Linked DNA regions of Homo sapiens: region 1 is linked to region 2. The links are contacts of gene promoters, found by promoter capture Hi-C in blood cells and fetal thymus (Javierre and others, 2016). All regions are on one chromosome and are shown on one strand. The core of a region is centred on a gene start or on the middle of the fragment in contact, and the rest is flanking DNA. Distances in the headings are between cores, read along the strand shown.

Region 1 (4,818 bases), core at 12-2,511, 810 kb before region 2:
TTACTAGAACCCCTGCAGTAGGATATTATGATTGCCATTTTGCCAGTAATGAAACTAAAGCATAATCAGGTTAAGCAACTTGCCCATTTTTTTTTTCAATCCAAGACAATCCTGATTTGGCTAATCTTGACTGATATTTTGGTGCTTATATATAAAGAGCTCTGGATTATTTGTCAAAAGTCTTGAGGGGGTGGGCACAGTGGCTCATGCCTGTAATCCCAGCACCTTAGGAGACCAAGGCGGGAGGATCACTTGAAGCCAGAAGTTTCAGACCAGCTTGGGCAATATAGTGAGATTCCTGTCTCTGCCCAAAAAAATAAAAATTAGCTGGGCACAGTGGTGTGTGAGTGTAGTCCCAGCTACTCAGGAGGCTGAGGCGGAAGGATTGTTTGAACCCAGGGCTTCAAGGTTACAGTGAGCTACAAATGTGCCATCGCACTCCAGCCCGGGCAATAGAGTTAGATCCTGTCTCAAAAAAAAAAAAAAAAGAAAAGAAAAGAAAACAAAAGTCTTGGGTTCTAGTCCCACTTTACTGCTGATTAACATTTTAACTTGAAGAGTGATTCAATCACTCGGTTGCCCCACTTGAAAAAAAAAAAAAGCTGGAGTACATATCTAGAATCCTTACCACACGAACATTCTATATTTTTGGTTCTTTGACTCTAAAATGGTCAGCTTAAAAGAGTGTTTTCCATCCCTCTTTTGGCTGTTAGAGCCATCCCTGGTGACTTTACCCCTTTCCCCTGAACCTTTCATATGTTTATTGAGCATCCACTCCAGTTGTGCACTGGTGTTTGTTTTCACGGGGTTACTGGTACCCTCCACCCTCACCCCTCTTTCTCCCTGCAGAAAGCTTTTCTAATACTTTCAGCCGTGGTCAATTTCAGGTGATAGCAATGGTAATCATTTATTGAGTACTTACCAAATGCTAGAGACTGACACAGGCTATGTCATTTTTTCAATACCAAGCCCTGTGAAATGGGTACTATCAGACCATTTTTACACCTGTGGCTTAGAAGACTTAAATGTCTAGTGTAAGGGCGGTTGTAGTGGTAGGCAGAGGCAGGTCTCAAACCCTCGCCTACCTAACTCAGACACACTTGGCAATACTATATATCTCTTTAAGCCTTTCAGAGGATATGTTTTAGGAGGTGGATTGTTCCATTTTATATATATATGAACATGATAGACAGACAGATAGATAGATAAATAGATAGAGATAATTTTAAACGTGCTCACTTTCATTTATGAAAATTTACATTTGATAACTAAAAGAGCCTTGCAATTCCAGCATCTCCCTCATGGTGGCAGTAGAAGACTAAGTCATGTACACGCAGCCTCCAGCACCAACAACTAACCCAGAAGAAACCTCCTTAATAAATCAGCTTTTGGTCAAGATTGGTGTTACGTAAAATGCAAAATTAGGACCCTCGGAAGGGGAAAAAAAGAGTCTCAAGTATCTAGGTTATTGACCCCAGAAACAAAAGAAATTTGACAAACTTGCAAAACAGAGACAACAACTTCCTATGGGGGAAAAAAAAACAAAGCAACTACTTGTTGCTGCCCACCCGTTTAGTAACTGGCCTTGGTAGTCTTCCAGCAGCAAGCACAATAGCCTTGTCCACAGATGCTTTTCCCATTTCCTCGGTCCCCTTGAAACCAAGCTTTTGAGAACAAATAGTTTATTTCTCCTTTCTTAATTTGCTCTGAAGGTTTTTAACACAGCGATAACTGGCATATAGAAATTTCACATATTTTTCTTGATCACTATGGCCTATCAACCCCCGCCTGATGATTAAATGAAGGACGATGTATCCAAGGTTCTTAAAGAACTTGGTTGCAACGAATGAACACAAAAAACACCAGACAATAAACATGTATTGAATTATATCTGGGTACAGTAGACACCATTGGGCAGACTTCAGAATTAGCCCCCGGAAGTTTTGCTTTTGCTTGACTCTTGGTCATAGCTGATTGGACTAGAAGTGAACACCTGACTCAGGAGGAGGAAGTTCATTGGCTGACCAGGAGCCAATTAGGGTCTCTCTCTTGAGAACTCTGACTAAGAGACAGAGATGCAGGTTATTTAGTCCAGTTGCGGGTGTAGCATTAGACAGATATAAAACCCAAGAACTCTTGGTACTGAGGCCTGGTTGTTCAACTTTCCTCGGATTTTAGGGGGTGACCAGGATCCCTCCCAGCAAAGTATCATTTTTGTTTAAGCTTAATTTCAGTGGGTTATGTTACATGCATTCTCCATCAAAGACTCCAAGCCCTGTGCAAAGTGCAGTGAGGGCATACAAAGAATTTATGACATTTCCCTGCTCTCCTGGGTATGGGTAATTTTCCTTGCTGTAGAGAGAACAGGGTCTCTGGAATTCAACCCACCTTTGTGACCCTGTGAATGTTCCTTTTTTTCTCTCTCAGAGATTCAACTTTGTTCTCAGTAACATGGAAATGATAGCATCTGCCTAACAGTCATTTTGAACAGGAAGCGTCCCTCTGGCCGGGTGCCTCGTGCATGGCAGATTATCAGTAAATGTCAGCCTCTGCACTGCTTTGCAAGTAGGTCCTTTGGCCGCTCTCAAATGCAAGTCACACAAAGATTGTGGGAGTTTTTTTTTTTTTTTTTTAAATAGAAAATACATCATTCCTATAGAGAAAAAAATACAGTCACATTTAATAATGGCTGTTTAGACAGGGACAGGTTCTCTCGAGCCTCTGGAGGTGGTGGAAAGTGGAGGTGGGTCACTGATCCCAAGAAATAAGCTACAGGACTGAGGCCAGTTTCTGGAGAGGGGATGGTCACTCCTATATTTAAGCCAATAGTGAAGGTTAAGTAGGAGAGTCCAGAGGGACCCTTGAGCCCACTTGCTTGACAATATTGGTGCAGGACAAGTCTAACCCTCCTAACTGGGCAGCTGCCCCCTCCCAATAGTGGTCTCTCTTATGGAGAAAATTTTTACCCGATCAACTTATTCTCGTGAAGCACAAGGGCCTGATATGAACACCCCTTCTGTAGGCATTTTCAAAGAACTTAGTGAGGGTAACAGAAAGAAAAACCTCTATGCATCGAACTTCAGGCACCATCGGAGAAATGTCTTTTCTTAGATTGGCTTTCAAAGTATCTTTAAATCACCCTATTACAAATGGGGTATTAAATAGCCTGCTCTGCCTAGAGAAAAGGTTCCCAAGATTCCTTGTAGCTGCTGGGAAGTTACTGAAATCCTCAGTGACGTGTTTTGAAAAAGTGTTGACAATACAGCGGAAAGTTGCATCTGGCAGCTAACAAATATTTCTTGAGGGTCCACTCGATGCCAGGGATTGTTGCCCTGAAAATGCAAGGCTACCAAAACAAGCAGTTCAGGCCCTCAAGAACCCTGAATGTTCATGAGTACCCACCAAGTGTCACATAGAGCTTATGTCTCAGATGTTTTTCACAGTCCACCCCCCCAGGATGCATTTCCAAATTCTGTGGAGAGCCTAGAACTGTTTCCTCAAAGCCCTTTAGAGCAGTGAGGCACCAATATCTCTCTTTATTACTCCTTTTTCTTTTCTTTCTTTCTTTTTTTGTTTTTGTTTTTTGTTTTGTTTTGTTTTTTTAGAGATGGAGTCTCACTGTATTGCTTAGGCTAGTCTCAAACTCCTGGGCTTAAGCAATCCTCCCATCTCAGCCTCCTGAGCAACTGGGACTACAGGAGAGCACCACCATGCCCAGCTTTATTACTTCTTTTTAAAAAATAAAACTTTTTTTTAAAAGCAGAGAACGTGCTCATTCATTCTGCAGCTGGATCTTGAATAACTTTTCCACTTTGAGAGTTCTGACCCCAAAAACATTGCTGTCACTTTCCAGGTGTTCTATCCTTCCTTGGACCCCATAGCCTGGCTGCCCAGGTCAGACAAGTATGGAACATTTGTTTGTGAGGACAGAGACAGCCACTGGCAACATACCGAGGTATTACAGAGACTTGCTGTGAAGCAAGGCCAACAAAACATCACTTACACAATCAAATAACAAAGAGGGGCATCTTTTTCAAAATTAAAGGTCTATGTGTAAATAAATTCTTTCTGAAAAATAAACAAGATATGAGATAAGGATCCAGGTTTGCTTTGGTATCACTATGGTTACTAGAATGATGTTCAAGACATTTTCACCATGTTCTCCTCCTTTTGAATGCACGCCACAAGTAAAGCATGCCTGAGTTTGGTCTAGAGAGCCTAGGGTGCATTCTCTTTCATGGATGTAGAAGGGATGCAGTTAGCACATTGCTAGTCTTAAAAACAAACAAAAATCCTAGGGAAGATCCTCTCCTTTACTGGCTCAAAAAAGCCCCTGGTAAGAAAAAGTTGTTATACTATTAATGACATGACTGTTTGGTATTGTAAATATCACTCTCAATCAACCAGTATTAGTGAGCACTTCTGAGCACACTCACCATAAGAAGTCATTTACCCGATGGTTATTGAAACTGTTCCATATGAAATTTTGAATTAGTTGCTCAATGTTCTCATTTTTGCCACAGTGTTTTTCTTGACCTAGAGACATACTCAGTTCTATTCCTCATAAGAACAAACTCTTAACTTTGTTCCTGTAACCTAGACTGAGGACTCAGAACTGACCTCGTTTCACTGCTGCATAATACCATATTTCCTGTTTGACAAAGATCCTACCTTGAGCTTGCAAAGACTCCCTGCTTCTTAAAACTGAAACTGGACCCCTTCCTTACACTTTATACAAAAATTAATTCAAGATAGATTAAAGACTTAAATGTAAGACCTAAAACCATAAAAACCCTGGAAGAAAACCTAGGCAATACC
Region 2 (4,760 bases), core at 1,437-3,936:
TAACAGCTATTTATTTAGCATTTTCTTTAGGCAAGGCAGCAGGAAGCAATGGTAAGTGCTAAGACATGGCCTTGGTCCTCCAGGAACTATAGTACAACACAGCTGTAGGAGGCAGATGTGTGAATGAGCCCTAAGAGGAGAGGTGTGGGTACCATAACAAGGAGTGGCACCCAGCAAGGACTGGGAGCCTAAGGATGCCCAGATCAAACAGGGTCCCAGCTGGGACCTTGGAGAGATGTTGTGCCAAACCCCTATTAACCTCAATAAGGAAGGCAACAGGTTCAAGAGGCCAAAAGAGACCCATTAGGGGCTTACAAACAGAGGAGGGAGTCCAGTGGTGGTGAGCTGGGCAGGAAAACAACCGCTTGCAAACATCATGCAATTTATGCAGCATTTTCACTTAACACCCTCCCCTCAATGACCTCTACCTGGCAACTTGATTTAACTCAAAATTCAAGGCCTCAATTCCCCGTATGGCCCCTGTTCTATGGGACAGGTGGGGCAGGGGCTCAGATGTTCTTCATAGACAAGAAATAAATCTCTGGGTTGGGCAGGCCTGGGTTCCCTAGTTCAGAAAACACATTCAGGTTCATCTGCCACACAGGGTCATTCTAAGGGTATGCTTTAATTATTGCTGTCAGGTGCATTTACCCTACAGGGGAGCATGAATAAGTCAAGTGAAGAGGGTGCAGGGAAGGGTGTTCCTGGCAGAAGGGAGCGCATGTGCAAGGCCCTAATGGCACAAGAAAGCATGTTCTCAAAATGAAAAGTGCAAGGGGCTTGTGAAAAGAGAGGGTGCTGGTGAGAAAGACAGGGCTGTACACCCACATAAGCCCCGTAAAGGGAGTCTGGTTCCGTCCTAAGGGCAATGAAGGATCACTGAAGGGAGCCTCACAATCAGATTTAAATTCCAGCAAGCACTTCCCAGTTGCAGTAGTGAAGATGGGTTGTGAAGTGAGGCAGGGAGATAAATCGGGAAGCTGTTGCAGTAAAGTAAGCAAGAGCTTAGTTGATAACGGTAGGCTTATCTAGAGAAATGGCAATGAGAATGGAGAGAAGGTGGACAGATTTCAGAAGTTCAGGAGGTAGAATCAGAATTGAATTTGAGGCGGGAAGGGAAAGTCAGGGGTGAATCAGAGATGACTCACCCCTAGGTATCTGGCTTAGACCATTAGGAGAAGTAGGGAGTCGGGGAGCCTCATGCTATTCCCTGAGACAGAGAACATGGGAACAGCAGCAGGTGTGTGGCGGTGGGAAGAGGGAGGTGGCTAGGAATGATGGGACCTGTTTAGAATGTATTCAGTCTGAGACGCCCAACACACAGTCCGGAAAACACCCTTACATACAGATCTGAAGCTTATGAGAGTTCTTTCATTATCAGGTGTAACTTCTAGACCTAATTTTCTCCTAAAGCTAAGTAGCTGTTGTGAAAGATTAATTCCACTCCATCCTGAGCCCCCCAGCTCTTCCTGCGATCTTCTCTTGAGGACCCATACCCTTTTACTTGGTTGGGATTCTCTCAACTCTCAGCCAGCCAAGCTCCTTGAGGGCAAACCAAGGTTCAGTTTATCTTTGTCCTCCTCACAGCACCAAGAACCCTGCCATGCACAAGGCAGGTACTTAAAATACTTGTTAAATGAATAAATGAGTGAGTGAACCAAAGGAACAGCTTCTGCCTGAAGACATTCTGTAACTGACCTACCCAATACAGCTTTATTGCCAGGAAACAGGTAGCCCCTTAATCTCCTTAGCGAACTGACTGTTGTTCTAAAGAGGCAAAATAAATCTACTCCCAATGCTTGCAAGAAGATTCTGTTCTCACAGAGAATATTCAGACAAAAGAATCACCTATTCCATGACGGAGCCATGTGGCCAGGCCAGAAGCACACATTAAAGCCAGAGGCTGTGTTAACATGGAAGGGATAAGGTGGGAGAGGATGTGCACAGCACATCACACGCTCTCATCACAAATGTGATGCTCAAGCCTTGGAAGGACTAAAACGCATCTTGGATGCAATGCAGCAAAACGATTTACCATACCAGGTACAAAACAAGGTGACAGGGGACAGCCTCGCTGCCCGCCCCAAATCCTCCAAAATTCGGAGAATTAAGAGATTTTCGGTGAACTGTTACATAAAAAGCATTTTCACATGCTAAAGATATAACAATTACCTACCCTTGAGCTCTTGGAGGGCACAAAAGGCACATTTTCGAGTGGGGTCTGGGTGGTGCTGAGAAGGTTAAAATCCTGCCAAGCATTTTGCAATGGTCCATGAGCCCACCCCACCACCCCAGATCCAGGAAGGTAGGAGGCAGGATAGGTGGGATATTTAGGGATACCAGAAGGCAGAAACTCGGGAGGAGGAGAAAAATGATACCGCGGAGGTAAGACCGATGCCCTGCAAAATCCCCTCAAGGTCCTCTGCATCATCGTTTGCTGTACAGGTTTGGCGCGGGGGAGGGGATGCCCGCTAAGCAACGCCCCTTATATTTCTGCAGTTTTGTAAGAAAATTCAGAGCAGGAAGGTCTCCATTGCGGGATGCACAGCTCACCTGCAGCCCCGAGCCTTCACTGCAGCTGAAAAGACAGAAGTCTGGGGCCAGCTGCCGCCAAGCGCGGTACCTGGAGTCCGGAAGCAGTCTCCGCACCAGCGCTGTCCCACTCGGCGCCCAGCCGTCTCGCGCTGAGCAAAGGCCGCTCCCTCCTGGAAACGCCCTCCCTGCCGCGCGCATGCGCTGTGTCCCTTCTCGCCTTGCAGGACTCCACCCGGTCCATGCCCTCCGGCTGAATCCGGGCGGCCTGTAGGCCAGGCAGCCAGGAGGCCCTGTGCTGCAACATCCCGGCGGCAGCCGGACCCGTTGCTCCGTCTATCCTGCCTTCGGCCCTGTCCTGGAGCCAGGGCTGGGGTTTGCTGCCTCCCGCCTGACGGAGCAGGACTGGCAGGAAGCGTGTTTGCAAGAAGCCAAAATTACAGAAGGCGAAGATTTTTAAATTAACTCCATTCATCTTTCAAGGGACATTTCCAGAACCTCCAAAAGGCAACCCGAGGTCTTCTACACACCCTCCAGCAGACTGTCCCCACTGTCAGTGGAGGGAGCTAAGGTTCAGTGAGGTCAAGTGACTTAGTTGTCCCAGGTCAAAATCCAAGTTTGCCTGGTGTCAAAGCCCAAGCACCCTTCATTACACTATGGGATCATCTAGATGTGGTTGGGAGACGAGGATCCTAGTTTTAAACTTCAGGCCCAGGATTTGCTGGGTTTAGATATCTACTGGGAAAGGTATAGAATTCCAGAGTTGGAAAGCACTTAAAACCTTGCCTAATGCAAGGCAATCCGCTCAATCCCAGGAACGAAACTTAAACTGACCTTATTTTTTTTTTAAATACAGGATCTCAGTCGGTCGCCCAGGCTGGAGTGCAGTGGCACCATCCCGTCTCACTGCAACCTCTGCCTCCTGCCTCCTGGGTTCAAGCGATTCTCCAGCCTCAACCTCCCAAGTAGCTGGGATTACAGGTGTGTGCCACCTCACCCGACTATTTTTTTTTTGTAGAGACGGGGTTTCACTGTGTTGCCCAGGATGGTCTTGAATTCCTGAGCTCAAAGCAATCCTCCCGCCTCTGCCTCCCAAAGTGCTGGGATTACAGTTTAAATTGACTTTAAATTATGCCTCCCTGTAGCAACTTATCATCTCAATCTTCTGCCTTCTTGATTGAATACAGAACTCCGACCCTCTTCCTTATGTAACAGCCCTTTGGAGATTTGAAGAAGGTTGTCATAGTGAAGTAGCTCTAGAGGTTCTGTGTCACTGAGAATTACAGCGGAATTCCTCAGAATAAAAAAGGAAACTCAAAAATTAAATCTTGTGAAGTTTGTTTGCTACATCTATTCTTTGTGCATAAAAGTGCTTCAGGGAAGTAATATAACTACATCTAACTTATGAAAGTCTAAGTTGGTCCTGGGGAATTAATAAAATTCCTGAAGATTCACAGAAGAGTTGATGGCAAGGCACTGGAATGTGGCGTGGAGAAAGTGATAGCCTGAAATTTGGTTCTGAGTTCTCTCAGCCCTCCTTTCCATCCCCTTCTATGCCCATCCTTACCCCAGCCTCCTCACCTTCTCTCCTCACACTCTCAGAACACTTACCCTATTTGGAATAAAACTAAAATCCTCTTGGAATACTTCATTATCTTCATCTGATGTGACCTGGGTAAATAACTCCCCTCTGGACCTCAGTGCCTGGATTTAAGATATGGACAAGACTAGATGCTCTGAGATCCCTTACACCCTATCACCAACATACTCGAAGCTGGAAACAGCCTCATGATATTCCTACTCAAGGCGTATCACCTAAAACTAAAGAAAAACTCTTTGAATATTATGGGAATTCCATACCCTTGAATATGTGGGAACAGGATGGTTCTTAGGCAAAGGGACCACTGCCCTCTCAACTCATAGGCACCAGCTGCTGCCTTCTCCAGCTAATGGAAAGGCTGCAGCCCAAGGTAAGGATGCAGGAAAGCCTATTCCCCTCAACTGTTTTGTAAAGCTTTCTATGCATGATCCACAGCAGAGACTCTTAACTTTCAATGTGTCACCAACCTCTTTGGCAGTCTGGAGAAATGCACAAAATAAAATACACAGGATTGCAAAGGAAGCCAATTTTATTGAAATGCAATTTCATTGAAATCAAATTCTTAAACATTTAAATCTGTCACATAATAGATGTGCTTCTTTATTAACATATTAAAGATTACAAGACC

What was found. The method cuts DNA at HindIII sites, captures the fragments that hold promoters and counts their contacts. A CHiCAGO score of 5 or more calls a contact.
Region 1: a fragment that was not itself captured here is called in contact with the fragment with the promoter of TMEM14A in region 2 in 1 of 17 cell types (erythroblasts); the score reaches 8.2 in erythroblasts.

The regions. Positions count from the first base shown.
Region 1 is chr6:53,481,319-53,486,136 of GRCh38, reverse strand. The region is part of intron 3 of GCLC-AS1 (GCLC antisense RNA 1); the gene reads right to left. Among named protein-coding and RNA genes, the nearest start is that of GCLC-AS1, 52 kb to the right of the region's middle. The HindIII fragment of the contact is 811 bases long and covers 856-1,666 here.
Region 2 is chr6:52,669,039-52,673,798 of GRCh38, reverse strand. TMEM14A (transmembrane protein 14A) reads right to left here and starts at 2,686. Exons shown (of 5, transcript NM_014051.4): 1 at 2,554-2,686. It overlaps LOC730101 (a long non-coding RNA gene), which reads right to left. Exons shown (of 3, transcript NR_024405.1): 3 at 4,646-4,760. RefSeq lists enhancers at 2,822-2,981, 2,970-3,470. The HindIII fragment of the contact is 3,190 bases long and covers 1,359-4,548 here.